Regions from separate parts of the Homo sapiens genome. Here all the other regions are linked to region 1. Evidence: promoter capture Hi-C in human tissues and cell types (Jung and others, 2019). All regions are on one chromosome and are shown on one strand. Each heading gives the region's core, a stretch centred on a gene start or on the middle of the fragment in contact. The rest is flanking DNA. Distances are from core to core; before and after follow the strand shown. Region 1 holds the start of OCIAD2 (OCIA domain containing 2). Region 2 overlaps FRYL (FRY like transcription coactivator). Region 3 overlaps FRYL (FRY like transcription coactivator).

Region 1 (4,518 bases), core at 1,353-3,852:
TTGCTATTTAAGGTAGTCAATGGCCTATTTGGTGGAAAGTAGAGATGAGGGTGGGGGCCTGGACTGCACTCCAGCCTGAGCAACATAACAAGACTCCCATCTCTAAAAAGAAAAAAAAATAATAAGGTCATGGGAGACCAGAAGCGCAGCTGTCACATATGCATAACAGGTATAACATCTTGCATACCATAGCAAGATGTTAAAGGACAAATGCCACTTAGGTTATGTGTCCATTACACTGACTTCAGTGTAATGGAGGGTTGTTCATTTAAATCACAAAACCTGTTCTGTTCAAACCAGCTGATTTTTTCTGATTTCTGGTAATGCAATGTGAAATTAGCAATAGAATTATATTCCCTTTAATTTGGAGGTGGAAAAAGGAGTGAAAAGGAAATAAGACACACTTTGGTGGGGAGAAAACCAGTGAATCCATGGAGGAATGTGGTCTGGAGGATCTACTAGGGAAATGAACCATCCAAAACAACAGTATCTTGACAGTCATTGAACCTAGGCTCACTTATTCATTCATTCATTCATTCATTCATTCAACAAATATTTATTGAGCCCCTTCTATATCCAAGATGCTACACAATGGTGAACAAAACTGACACCATCTTGTTCTGAACCTCATGAAGATTACTCTGCAGCAGGGAAAATATGCTTTATATAAATGAACACACTAATAAGTACATAATGAGTTGTGATAAGTGCTATGAAGGAAAACAATAGTGTCCTGTGCTATGAAAAAGAAGAAAGGCCTGCCTTAGGCTGGGGTCAAGGAAGATTTTCCTGAGGAACAGTCAAAAAGAAGGAGTAGGAAAAAGCCAGGACAGGACCAATCGGGAGAGGCTGCAGGCAGGGGAGGGCCTCCAGTGGAAAAGAGCTGTGTGAATCTGAGAAACAACAAGTTGGAGGTGTGGATCGGGGAGGCGTGAGGAGGAAGCGGCCACAGGTACAGGGACCAATTCGCACAATAGGAAAAGGTGAGAAATGAAGAGGGCCTTCAGTGGAGATCCACAGCCTCTCTCCAAGTCAACACACTCAGTCAGTCCTGGCAGCTCAGCCCAGAAAACTTTGTCAGCCATGGCTGGGGTAACTGTGTCCAGAGGTGTTTGAACAAGAGCCACTCCATCTTGAATAGGGACTGAGTAAAATAAGGCTGAAACCTACTGGGCTGCCTTCCCAGGTGGTTCAGCATTCTTAGTCACAGGATGAGATAGAAGGTTGGCACAAGGTACAGGTCACAAAGACTTTGCTGATGAAACAGGACTCAGTAAAGAAGCCAGCCAAGACCCACCAAAATCAAGATGGTCATGAAAGTGACCTCTGGTCGTCCTCATTACTCATTAAATGCTAATTTTAATGCATTAGCCTGATAAAAGACCCTCCCACCAGGGCCATGACAGTTTACAAGTGCCATGGCAACGTCAGAAAGTTACCCTATATGGTCTAAAAAGTGAAGGAACCCTCAGTTCCGGGAATTGCCCACCCTTTTCCTGGAAAATTCATGAATAATCCACCCCTTGTTTAGCATAGAATCAAGAAATAACTACCAGTATAATTAGCTAAGCAGCCCACACAGCTGCTCTGCCAGTGGAGTAGCCATTCTTTTTTGTTGTTGTTCTTCTTGTTTTTTGTTTTTTTTTTGTTTTTTTTTTTTTTGAGACAGAGTCTGGCTCTGTCGCCCAAGCTGGAGTGCAGTGGCGCAATCTCGGCTCACTGCAACCTCTGCCTCCGGAGTTCAAGCGATTCTCCTGCCTCAGCCTCCCGAGTAGCTGGGATTACAGGCATAGAGCACCATGCCTGGCTAACTTTTCGTATTTTTAGTAGAGAGAGTGTTTCACCATGTTGGCCAGGCTGGTCTGAACTCCTGAGCTCAAGTGATCTGCCTGCCTTTGCCTCCCAAAGTGTTGGGATTATGGGCGTGAGCCACCGCACCCGGCCTGTTTTCTATACTTCCTTAATAAACTTGCTCTCACTCTACGGACTCACCCCGAATTCTTTCTTGCGAGAAGTCCAAGAACCCTCGCTTGGGGTCTGGATCGGGACCCCTCTCCGGTAACAAGTGATATCGGTATTAAAGGTACCCCCACATGTCAAAGGCTTCCCTCCACAAGTCAGAGTTGGGGAGGGACAGGAGGCAGCAGGGGACCGACAAAGAGCAATGGAAAGAGAAGGCCTGGGAGCCAAGCAGGCCTGGGGTTGACTCCAGGCTCCCTTAGTGGCCTGCACAACTCAGATGACCCGTCTGTGAAGTGCAGGTCACAGTGGGCACCACACACGGCTGCAGAAAGGAGTGCAAAGGTGATGCCCACGCCTGGCCTAGGGCGGGGGCGCAATACATGGCTGTTGCGGCTGTGATTGCTGGAGGAAGGGAGTCATTTGGAAGGCACAAAGGAACTAGAACCTACTCGGTGTCGGGACAAGCCTCAAGGATGGGGCAGGGGTTCCGGCAAGAGCTGGGTTCCAGCCTGGGTTGCCACCAACAGCGAAAGTGACTGCCAGGTGGCAGTAGGGTGACTTCACCAGCTTAAGTGCTTAGCGGGCAGGCGAGGGGGCGGAGCAAGAGAAGAAAACACAAAGGGCCGGAAGGAAGCCGGGGAGACAGGTGGGGTACTCGGGAAGCTGGAGCGGGCCGGCGGTGCAGTCACGGGGGAGCGAGGCCTGCTGGGCTTGGCAACGAGGGACTCGGCCTCGGAGGCGACCCAGACCACACAGGTGAGCCCCCGCCCCGGGGAGTGTTGACGGCGGGAGGGGGTGGCCTCGGGGGAACGCGGCGCCGCAGGGCAGTCCTTCGAAGGCCGCGCGGTGCAGCGGTGGCCGCCCCCCACTCTCCCCTAACTCGGACCCCGGCGGCCCCGGCACGGGCGAGGGGCTGGGGAGCTTGGGGTGGCGCTGGCTGCTTCTGGCCAGGGATGGCAGCGGACTCCAGTAGGCTGACTCCCGGCTTCCCCGACCGCATCAGAAAGTGCAGTGTCCCCCGTCCGCCGTCCAGCCCTGCAGGCGCCCCCCTCCAAGCCATCCTAAGAAGCACCCCCGCCCCCCATGCTGGGGCGCGCCCTCCTCCGCACATTCGTCGGTCAGCACCCACGAACCCACGGGTCCCTTCCCCACCACTGAGGAAACAGAGGGTCCCCGGACCACCCCAGCGTGGGGGGTGGGAGCTACACCTGCAAGGCAAGACCCTCGGAAGGCTTGCTTTTAGGTGCAGACTGAGGACTAAGTGGGTGCCAGGGGACCTGGCCACCGAAGCTGAGAGGTATATTTGCCTCCCAATATAGGGCAGCGGCCTAATGGCTAAGCAAAGATAATCTAATTTGGCGTGGTCAGCAAAGACTTCCTGGGAGTGCTCAGGAAATGGAAGGTGTGCAGGGGCTTTATGGACGTATCCCTCATCCTCATCCTCATCCTAGTCTTCATTCCTGCAAGAGCCCCTCACCATTGTTGTGTCCATTATGCCCAATTAACAGTGGAGAAAGCTGAGGCAGAGACGGATTAAGTCATTTGCACCAAAGGGATCGCAGGGGTAAAGAGTCACGATTTGAACTCTGGTCTCTCTGACCCCAGTACTTTCCCGTGCAGGGCACCGTGCTGCCCCTGTAATCACATTAGACACCTGTGATGAAACTTGGTGCGAGTACGGGTCCCCTTGGCTCAAATGCCTCAAAGTTTAGTAACTGATGTAGGAAACAGAATTGTATATAAGAGGTTCATTTTGCAGAAGAAAAGCAGAGGTAGAGGTAGAGTTCAGGGCTGCAGAATGCAGTGGCCACTGGGGGCAGGAGGAGGCTCAAAGTCCACCTGGATTATGTCCATCATTGCCAAATCCAGGGTCCACTTTTCTAAGCCATGTGATGGTGTTGATGATTCACTCCCTCCTTCAGAAATTCCCTCCCCTCTGTATCAGCTATTCCTTCTCAGTCATTTCCTTGGCCTGCTTTTTTTTTTTTAATCTTTCTTCTCTTTTCGATATTCCCTTGGGCTCAGTGTTCATATTCTCCAGTACTGTTTTTAGACACATTTATTAAAGTTCCCTGCTTTAACTCTCATCTCTATGATGGCAGCTCCCAACTTCATCTCTCTAGCCTACCCCTGTTCTGGAACTCTAGACCCAAATCGTCAAATATTAACAGTGGCTAATTCCACTGTTTGCCCCCACAGGCACCCAAATCCAACATTTCCAAACCCAAATTTAGCATCTCTATCAAAGATGCTAAATTCCCACCAGGGTCTTTGTTCACGTCCCTGTAACTCCTTGTCTGGACTAGTGTACCACCTTCCAACCTGGTCCTCCTGCCCCAGAGTCCATCTACCCTCCACAGATCCTCCTGAAAGCTTAGGAGTCCTAGTTCCTTTGTGACATGACTAGATGGAATGGACCCTGCTTTCTTTTCTTCCTTAGCATCCCATGCATACTTTTCATGTTGTGTAACTGTTGACTTGTCTATCTCCCCTTTTGGACTGTGAATTCCTTCACAGCGGTGATCTTGTCTTATCCTTCTTCATATCCCCTGGCCT
Region 2 (4,518 bases), core at 950-3,449, 180 kb after region 1:
TTCATGGTTTCTGGGGAGAAATTCTGGGGATGTAAATCTTATCTTTGTTCTTCTATAGGTATGGTGTTTTTATCTTCTGGCTTCTTTCAGGATTTTGTCTTTATCTTAGATTTTCTGTAGTTGCGTATGATTTGGCATGTCTAAGTGTAGGTTTTTTGTTTGCTTTTTTTGTTTTTTCAGCATCTCTCCTGCTTGGTGTTCTCTTAACTTCCTGGGTATCTGGTTTGATATCTGACATTAATTTGGGGGAAATTCTCAGTCATTATTATTTTAAGTATTTCTTCTGTTCCTCTCCTTTCCTTCTGGTACTCCCATTTCACACATGTTACACTCTTTGTAATTGTCCCACAGTTCTTGAGTTTTGTGTTTCGTCCTCTGTTTTTTTTTCCCCCACTCTTTTTACTCTTTGCTTTCCAGTTTTTGAGGTTATTATTGAGATATCTTCAATCTCAGATATATATATTTTTTGCTATGTCATCTGCTTTATTGATTAGAGCTCTTAGCATGTTAATCAGAGTTGTTTTCAGTTCCTGATCTGATAATTCCAATGTCTTGCCATATCTAAGTCTTGTTCCGATGCTTGCTCTGTCTTTTCAAACTACATTATTTGCCTTTTAGTATGCCTTGTGATCTTTTCTTTGTAGCTGGACATGATGTACTGTGTAAAAGGAGCTGTTTAATATAGGGTTTTATAATGTGGTGGCAAGGTGTGGAGGAAGGGGAGGTCTTCTATAGTCCTCTGATTAGATCTCAGTCTTTTAGTGAGTCTGTGCCTCTGGATTATCAGCTTCACAAGTGCTTCTCAGTACTCCCTTAGGTGGGACAGTATAGTTAAGAGTAGGCTAGAGTTGGGTATTTCCTGTCTGCCACATGGAAGGCTAGAACTGCCTAGAGTTAGGTATTTCTTTTCCTCCACATGGAAGGCTAAGGCTGACTGGGATTAGGTATTAACCTACCCCCAAGTTAGTTAGGGGTAGTTAGCAAGTTAGTCTCTGGCTAAATAGTTTCTCCTGAGGGCAAGCCTTGTTAAAAACAGAATGTTGTGGTGCATTTCAAAATGGTTGTTTTTCCTCTCTTTTGGAAGTAGGGGGGATTTTTCTGATATTCACTGTGAGAACTTAGGTCAAGCTCCTGGAGGTAAAAGTCAGAAAAAGTGCGATAGGCCCCTTCTGACTGGGTTCCCTGGAGTTTTTGACTCTCAGACTTTCTTACACTGATCCTCCAACAATTTGTCAATTACAGGTCAGGTTTTTCTTCCCTTGCACTGGTTCCCTCAACCTTCTGCTCATGGGTTTCTACTATGGTAAGTTGTGATTCTCTGTATCCTTCTGTATGTCCCTCCAATTTGGGGGGCAGTGGGGCAGTGGTTTGCCTTATGACCTCATTTCTTTTAAGGAGCTAAGATTAGTTGTTGTTGTTGTTTTTTCAATTTGTTCGCTTTTTACTTATTTTGGAGTGATGACTTCCAAGCTTCTTTCAGGTCAGATCAGAAACCAGACGTCTCTTCTTCCCATTTTTTTTTAAGTTGCTATACAGTATTCCTTTCTGGAGGCAAACAGTATTATAAGTTTTAGTGCATCCTTGCAGAGGTAGCCTGCTATTTAAAAATCTTTAAAAATTGAGATGAGATTACTGATTCCAAAGGCACATTCCATTAAAAAAACCTTTATTTCTGTAGTTATAATCCATTTCTCACTATTGATGTCATAGTTGTATGTTTTTCTGTCCATCTCTTAAACTACCTGCCCCTGTCAGATTTTCTTGATTTGCTGAATTTTGATAATTTTATTGGAATTTTCAAATAACTAATATACTAGTCAAGGTAGGTTAGCTTATGCTGCAATAAGAAAAGAATCCTCCAATTATCAGTCGCTTAAAACACAAAGATTATTATTTCTCACTCATATCAAGTTTGTACCTTTCAGGGAAAGTTGTCTTTCCTGTAAAGGCACTATGAGTCATCAATTACTGAGACAGCAGAAGAGAGAGGTTCAGAGCCCAACAATTAAATGCATCTGTGGAAGTTTTTTGTTTGTTTGTTTGTTTGTTTTGGAGATGGAGTCTCGCTCTGTCGCCCAGACTGGAGTGCTGTGGCATGATCTCGGCTCACTGCAACCTCTGCTTCCCGGGTTCAAGCAATTCTCATGCCTCAGCCTCACTAGTAGCTGGGATTACAGGCATACGCCACCATGCCTGGCTAATTTTTGTATTTTTAGTAGAGACAGGGTTTCACCATGTTGGCCAGGCTGGTCTCAAATTCCTGATCTCAAGTGATCCACCCACCTCGGCCTCCCAAAGTGCTGGGATTACAGGCATGAGCCACTGCACCCGCCCGCATCTGTGGAAATTTATAGGTCACTTCTCCTCACATTTCATTGACCAACAGAAGTCACATGACTGTGTCTAACTTCAACAGGGAAAAGGAAAGTAAAATTCTTCATTATGCCCAGAAGGAGAAGGGAAAATGGATAATGTTGTTAATGGCCTCTGTATCTTTATTTTTCTGATTACTTGCTTCGTGTTTTCTTGAAAGTGTCTTGTCATCTCTAACCCTGATTGCAGGTGCTGGTTTGGTAAGCCTGACCACCTCACCACCTACCCCCACAAAAAGAACTTATATCTTAGAAAAGCAAGTAGTTTTGCCTTTCACATCTTTGTTAAGAATTTCAAGGTCATTATCTCTGAAATTCTGAGAATTTCACCAGTCCTCTGTATTTGCCAATTCGTGTCATAAGATTGGTGATTTTTTTTCCTATATAGTAGTTTCCCCTTATCCTCAGTAGATGTGTTCCAAGACCCCAGTGGAAGCCTGAAACCTCAGATAGTGCCAAATCCTATGTATACTATGTTTTTTTCCCATACATACATACCTCTGATAAAGTTTAATTCCTAAATAAGGCGCAGTAAGAGATTAACAACAATAGTTAATAAGATAGAACAATTATAACAATATGCCAGCATCACTACTCTTGTGCTTTGGGACCATTGTTAAGTAAAATAAAGATTACTTGAACACAAGCACTGTGATACTGCGAGAGTGGATCTGATAACTGAGACTGCTCCTAAGTGACTAGCGGGTGGGTAGCATAGACAGTGTGGATGTGGACACACTGGACAAAGGGATAATTCATGTCCCGGGTGGGCAGGATGGAGCAGGACAGCGTGACATTTCATCACGCTACTGAGAATGATGTGCTATTTAAAACTTATGAATTGTTTATTTCTGAAATTTTCCATTTAATATTGTCGACTGAGGTTAACTGAAACCTTGAAAAATGAAACCTGGATAAGGGGATACGGTTGTACACTTTATTTAGTGTTGATAAATAGCACAGGCTGTATCAGAGCTTGACACGAGATTGTATTCTCTCTTTCTCTCAGAGGATAGACAGAGTCTGTTGAAGATTGCAGTTGGTATTTAGTGCAGAGAATTTGATGGAGGGGAGCAATTAAGTGTGGGCCATTTTCTTCTGGGCCTCACCTTAGTGGAGTAGACTGGCAGGCAGGCTCTTGGAGTGGATGGAGCACAGCAGATATGGCCGATGTAAGGGCAGATTGATTCTCTTTTGTCTCATGTCAAAATACCTTTGTGAAAATTCAGAAGTTTCAGATGAAGGGTGAGACCCCTTTCTAATTTCTGATGATGCTTGAATTTTCTCTTTTATATTGATTTAATCATCTTGAGGGATAATGGAACAGGGAGCTAAGTCAAATGTGTATTCTTAGGTTATCATCTGAATATTGCTTCTCCTTTTAAGCTTGTTTGGATAAAGTTTGATTCCAGTATTTAACAGGAATAAAAACAGTTTCAAATTTGTTATTTTTTGGAGACATTAGGTTCCATCTCAACATGGATGTAAAATAAGATATTCAAATATATTGGATTTATGTGCTGAAGGCAACAAGTTTCCCTCCCTTTCTCTATTATTCTACCCTACTCTAAAGTCCTCTAAAGGCAGCACGATGGAAATTTATGAAGTTGTTAATACGCATTTTATTGAATAAACTGTTTGAAAGTATGCATATTGGTGTTTTTCTTTGATTCTTGTCATTTATTATCAGGGGCACCGTTTGTTTAATCAACAAATGTTTATTGAGTTCCTGTGACCCAGGAGATGATGTTGGGGATTGTAAATATCCACAAGACAGCCCCCCCGCACCCAACTCCTGGAGCTTGCTTTTTAGTCGGGTAGACAAACAGTAAACAAATATTGGATGATAAACTCTATGATGAGAAATTAAGTTTGCTTAGAGAGTGATGGTGTCCGTTATTTTAGATAGGGTATGTGGGAAGTCCTCTTTGGAGGGTAGTATTTGCAATGATCTGAACAAAGGGAGGGAGCAAGCCATGCCCAGGGGAAAAGCTTTCCAGGCAGAGGGGTTAGCAAGCACACAGGCCCAACATGGAAATAGACTTGAGTTTGAGGGATAGCAGGAAAACTAGTGTGGCTGGAATAGGGGAAAGGAAAAGTCAGAGATGTTTGGCCATGGACTTTTTCCCCTGTCTTTTATGTAAAA
Region 3 (4,518 bases), core at 880-3,379, 160 kb after region 1:
AGCCTCCTGAGTAGCTGGGAATACAGGCACCCGCCACCATGCCCGGCTAATTTTTTGTATTTTTAGTTAGCCAGGATGGTCTCGATCTCCTGACCTCGTGATCCGCCCACCTTAGCCTCCCAAAGTGCTGGGATTACAGATGTGAGCCACCGTGCCCAGCTGCAGACCTGTTTTAAAACACTGCATGACTCTTCAACTGCTACCTGTCAATAGACCAGTTAGTAGTAGAGAAATCCAGATCCTTAGAGAAGAGGGCTGTGCCGACTCCTAACCACAGTGACCCATCCTGTGGGAAATGCAAATGTATGTGCCTTTGCTGTTCACGCACGGAGGTGCTTGATTGATTTGAAACATTCCTCAGTGATTTTTAATGAACTTATATCTTACCAGTAGTTCCAAATTTTCTTTTTGACATTGTACTTAATTCAGGACTCAAATTCAGGACTCATGGAAATCAGTTAACCACCATATATATTTTTTTTATTTACTCTAAGATACTGAGTACCTACATTGCACTAGACATCTTTAAATCAATCATCTTCTAAATGTCTCAATCTGTTTTCCTTCCTTTTCAATTTCATAGTCACTGTCCTATGACAGGCCTTTATAATTTCTCACCTAGATAATTATTGTCCTCTCTTAAGTCTTTCTTCCTTTAGTATCTGCCACTGTATATATCTTTCTTTTATTATTATTATTATTTAAGTTCTAGGGTACATGTGCACAACGTGCAGGTTTGTTACATATGTATACATGTGCCATGTTGGTGTGCTGCACCCATTAACTCGTCATTTACATTAGGTATATCTCCTAATGCTATCCTTCCCCACTCCCCCCACCCCACAACAGGCCCCGGTGTGTGATGTTCCCCACCCTGTGTCCAAGTGTTCTCATTGTTCAGTTCCCACCTATGAGTGAGAACATGCAGTGTTTGGTTTTTTGTCCTTGCGATAAGTTTGCTGAGAATGATGGTTTCCAGTTCATCCATGTCCCTACAAAGGACATGAACTCATCCTTTTTTATGGCTGCATAGTATTCCACGGTGTATATGTGCCACATTTTCTTAATCCAGTCTATCATTGATGGACATTTGGGTTGGTTCCACGTCTTTGCTATTGTGAATAGTGCTGCAATAAACATACGTGTGCATGTGTCTTTATAGCAGCATGATTTATAATCCTTTGGGTATATACCCAGTAATGGGATTGCTGGGTCAAATGGTATTTCTAGTTCTAGATCCTTGAGGAGTCGCCACACTGTCTTCCACAATAGTTGAGCTAGTTTACAGTCCCACCAACAGCCACTGTATATATCTTTCTAAAACTCAATTCTGATGATTTTGCTCCCCTGATTAAAAGCCCTCTTGGACTATCTATCCAAATTCCAGCCTAGCTTTTTGACCTTATTTCTTGCCAATCCCTATAAATGCACAATTTATTCTAGCTATACTGAATTTCTCAATGTAATCATAATTTACTGGGACATCTATTATCCTTTGCCGCCTTCTTTGTACACAGAAGCACTATTCATATTGTATTCTTTTTTTTAAAGTCTGTTTTTCATATTGAGTGCCTATCACTTAAGTTCACACTATATTATGGGTGGGAGATATTGAGGATTTCATAATAAACATTGTAATCTTTGCAAATAGCGCAAATATGGTAAATACAATAGAAACTTTTTGTGGTTTGAAATGATTCCTGTGATTTGACTAAGTATGGGAAGGATTTTTAAAACAGTTAAAGTTATCCCAAATGAAAGATTTTAGTTCTGTAGTTTGGTTTCACATGTCACTGTTAACTGAGACATTTCTCCTTAATGCAGTTTTTAGTTGATCTCTCAGATGTCACAGGATTTATTTAACTGCTTTGCTGCCTTTGATTTAAGAAAAAGAAAAAAAATCAGGCATATGCAACTATTTGTTGGTTTTCTCTGATTCCATTCTCTAACATTTCTTTGGGGTTCCCTGTGTAACTCAGTGACTTTGAAAGAGTAAATATTAATTTATGAAGTAGTTAACATTTTTTTCCTTGTCATTTATAATGCCTGTTAGTTTCACAGGCTGACTGGCTTTCTTTCCTTCTTTTCTTCCTCTCTCCTTCCCCTCCTTCAACAATATATAATAGCTTTATTAAGCTGTAATTCATATACCATAAAATTCACCTTTGCAAAGTATACAATCCAGTGGATTTTAGTATTTTTACAGAGTTGTGTAACTATCACCAATGTCTAATTTTAGACCATTTATATCACCCCCAAAAAGAAATTTCTTACCCATTAGCAATCACCCCCCTCCCCTACTAATTCGTACTATTTCTATATATTTGGTCACAGGCTTTCTTAACATTCTTAGTAAATACATTTACTGACCTATTAATTACAGAAATTCATCTAGATGCTCACATAGGTTGTGTTAGGGTTCTGCAGAGAAACAGAACCAAAAATGTGTATGTGTGCAGTGCACACACATGTACACATGTATATGGGGGTGGTGGGAAGACAGGGAAAGGGAGAGTTGTTAAATTGTTAAATTTTTAAAAATTGGCCCAAGTGATAGTGGAGGCTTGACAAGTCAAAAATCTGCGGGGTAGGCTGGAGACCCAGGGAAGAGTTGTAATTCAGTCAGCTAGCAGAATTCCCCCTTCTGAAAAGGTCAGTCTTTCTCCATCAGGGCCTTCAACTGATTGGATGAAACCCACCCTTTTGGAGAGTAATCTGCTTTACTCAGAGTCTACTGATTTAAGTGTTAATCTCATATAAAAAATATCTGGACAGAAACATCTAGAATAATGTTTGACCAAACATGTGGGTACCATGGACTAGCCAAGTTGACACATAAAATTAATCACACAAGTATTCACTGAGATGTTTAAAGGTAGAAAAGTAGAAAGAGCATTGAATTAGGGAACAGGAGAATTACTTTCTGGTCTTGGTATTACCAGTGAGAGCTTTATCCATGGGCAAACATTTCTGGGCTGTAAGTTTCCCTATCTGTTAAACAAGAGGTTCAACTTGATCAGGTTTCCTTTCTTGAATTATTATATGGAAGCTTGATATTTAAACAAAAAAGCTTGAAAAAACAAGCTAAGTCATCTCTAAGCCTCTTTGAACTTATTGAACCCCTGTAATTGTTATAGTTCTGATTCTGGATTTGTGATTTTTAGGTGTGACGTGGTTTTCTAGGAAAAGTAACACCTAGATAAGAATTTAGTGAAAGGCTTGTAAATTCAGTGTTCTTTCTACTTTTCTGCCTTTGATTACATAATAGATTAGCATTGCCCTAATTCAATTCTCTTTCTACTTTTCTACCTTTAAACATCTCAGATTGTCTGAGTGTGGTGGCTCACACCTGTAATCCCAGCACTTTGGGAGGCTGAGTCAGATGGATCACTTGAGGTCAGGAGTTCAAGACCAGCCTGATCGACGTGATGAAACTCTGTCTCTAGTAAAAAAAAAAAAAAAAAAAAAAAAATTATCCAGGCGTGGTGGCGCACACCTGTAATCCCAGCTACTTGGGAGGTTGAGGCAGGAGAATCACTTGACCCCAGGAAGTGGAGGTTGCAGTGAGCCAAGATTGTACCATTGCACTCCAGCCAAACTCTGTCTCAAAAAACAAAAAACAAAAAAACAACAAAAAATCTCAGATTACCCTCCAAAAGGGTGGGACAAGTAAAATCACTCTTGGCAAATTGAAATTTCTGTAAACAATTGGTATTATGTGTAGTTTTAATGATTGGAGTTTTTTGGGGGCTAGTGATGGTACCTGAGAGCACTTTATTTTGTTCAGGCATGAATAATGCCTGAATTGGATTGTGCTAGTGCATGACTAATACTAAGAATGAATAGCAGTCCTGAGTTGGTCTGTTACAGTAGGGAATAACTGACAATATCAATCTATTTTAAATACCATAAAGATGATATTCAGAGCTGTGAGACTGGATAAGTTGGAGTATAGATAGAAAAGAGGTCCAGAGACTGAGTCCTGTGGCATCCAACATGATGAAGTTGGGAGAGTAAGAACTAGGAATGAAGATTGAGAAGGACTGGCCAGTGGAGGAAAACTTACACAATGTGATGTCCTGGAAGCCAAATGAGGGAACAGTTTCAAGGTCAACAGCATTTTATGTGCTAATTGGTTAAGTAAAATGAAGACTCCAAATTGTGTTAAGTAAAACTTCATGCTACTAAAAATTAACGTCAGACTTTAAAAGGTGCACAACATATAAAGTAAAAAAAATTCTTTCTCATTGAAAAAAGACAACTTTTCAGAGTAGTTTCAGGTTCACAGCAAAATTGAGAGGAGGGTACAGAGACTTCCTGTTTCCTTCCTGCTCCCACACATGCATAGCCTCCATTGTCAACATACCCCTCCAGGGGGGTACATTTGCTACAATTAATGAAGCTATATTGATACATCATTGTTACCCAGAGTCCATAGTTTACATTAGGGCTCACTCTTTGGTGTTGTACACTCCATGGGTTTGGACAAACTTCTAATGACATGTATCCACTATTATA

Evidence for each region. Contacts are between HindIII fragments. The study calls those that stand out against the background at their distance.
Region 2: a fragment that was not itself captured here is called in contact with the fragment with the promoter of OCIAD2 in region 1 in 2 of the 25 tissues and cell types used here (hippocampus and lymphoblastoid cells).
Region 3: a fragment that was not itself captured here is called in contact with the fragment with the promoter of OCIAD2 in region 1 in 2 of the 25 tissues and cell types used here (heart left ventricle and lymphoblastoid cells).

The regions. Positions count from the first base shown.
Region 1 is chr4:48,904,858-48,909,375 of GRCh38, reverse strand. It overlaps OCIAD2 (OCIA domain containing 2), which reads left to right and starts at 2,602. Exons shown (of 7, transcript NM_001014446.3): 1 at 2,602-2,718. RefSeq lists an enhancer at 2,295-2,374 and a silencer at 2,665-2,924. The HindIII fragment of the contact is 7,902 bases long and covers 1-4,518 here.
Region 2 is chr4:48,724,216-48,728,733 of GRCh38, reverse strand. The region is part of intron 1 of FRYL (FRY like transcription coactivator); the gene reads left to right. Among named protein-coding and RNA genes, the nearest start is that of FRYL, 54 kb to the left of the region's middle. The HindIII fragment of the contact is 3,725 bases long and covers 337-4,061 here.
Region 3 is chr4:48,741,928-48,746,445 of GRCh38, reverse strand. All of the region lies in intron 1 of FRYL (FRY like transcription coactivator), which reads left to right. Among named protein-coding and RNA genes, the nearest start is that of FRYL, 36 kb to the left of the region's middle. The HindIII fragment of the contact is 6,767 bases long and covers 1-4,518 here.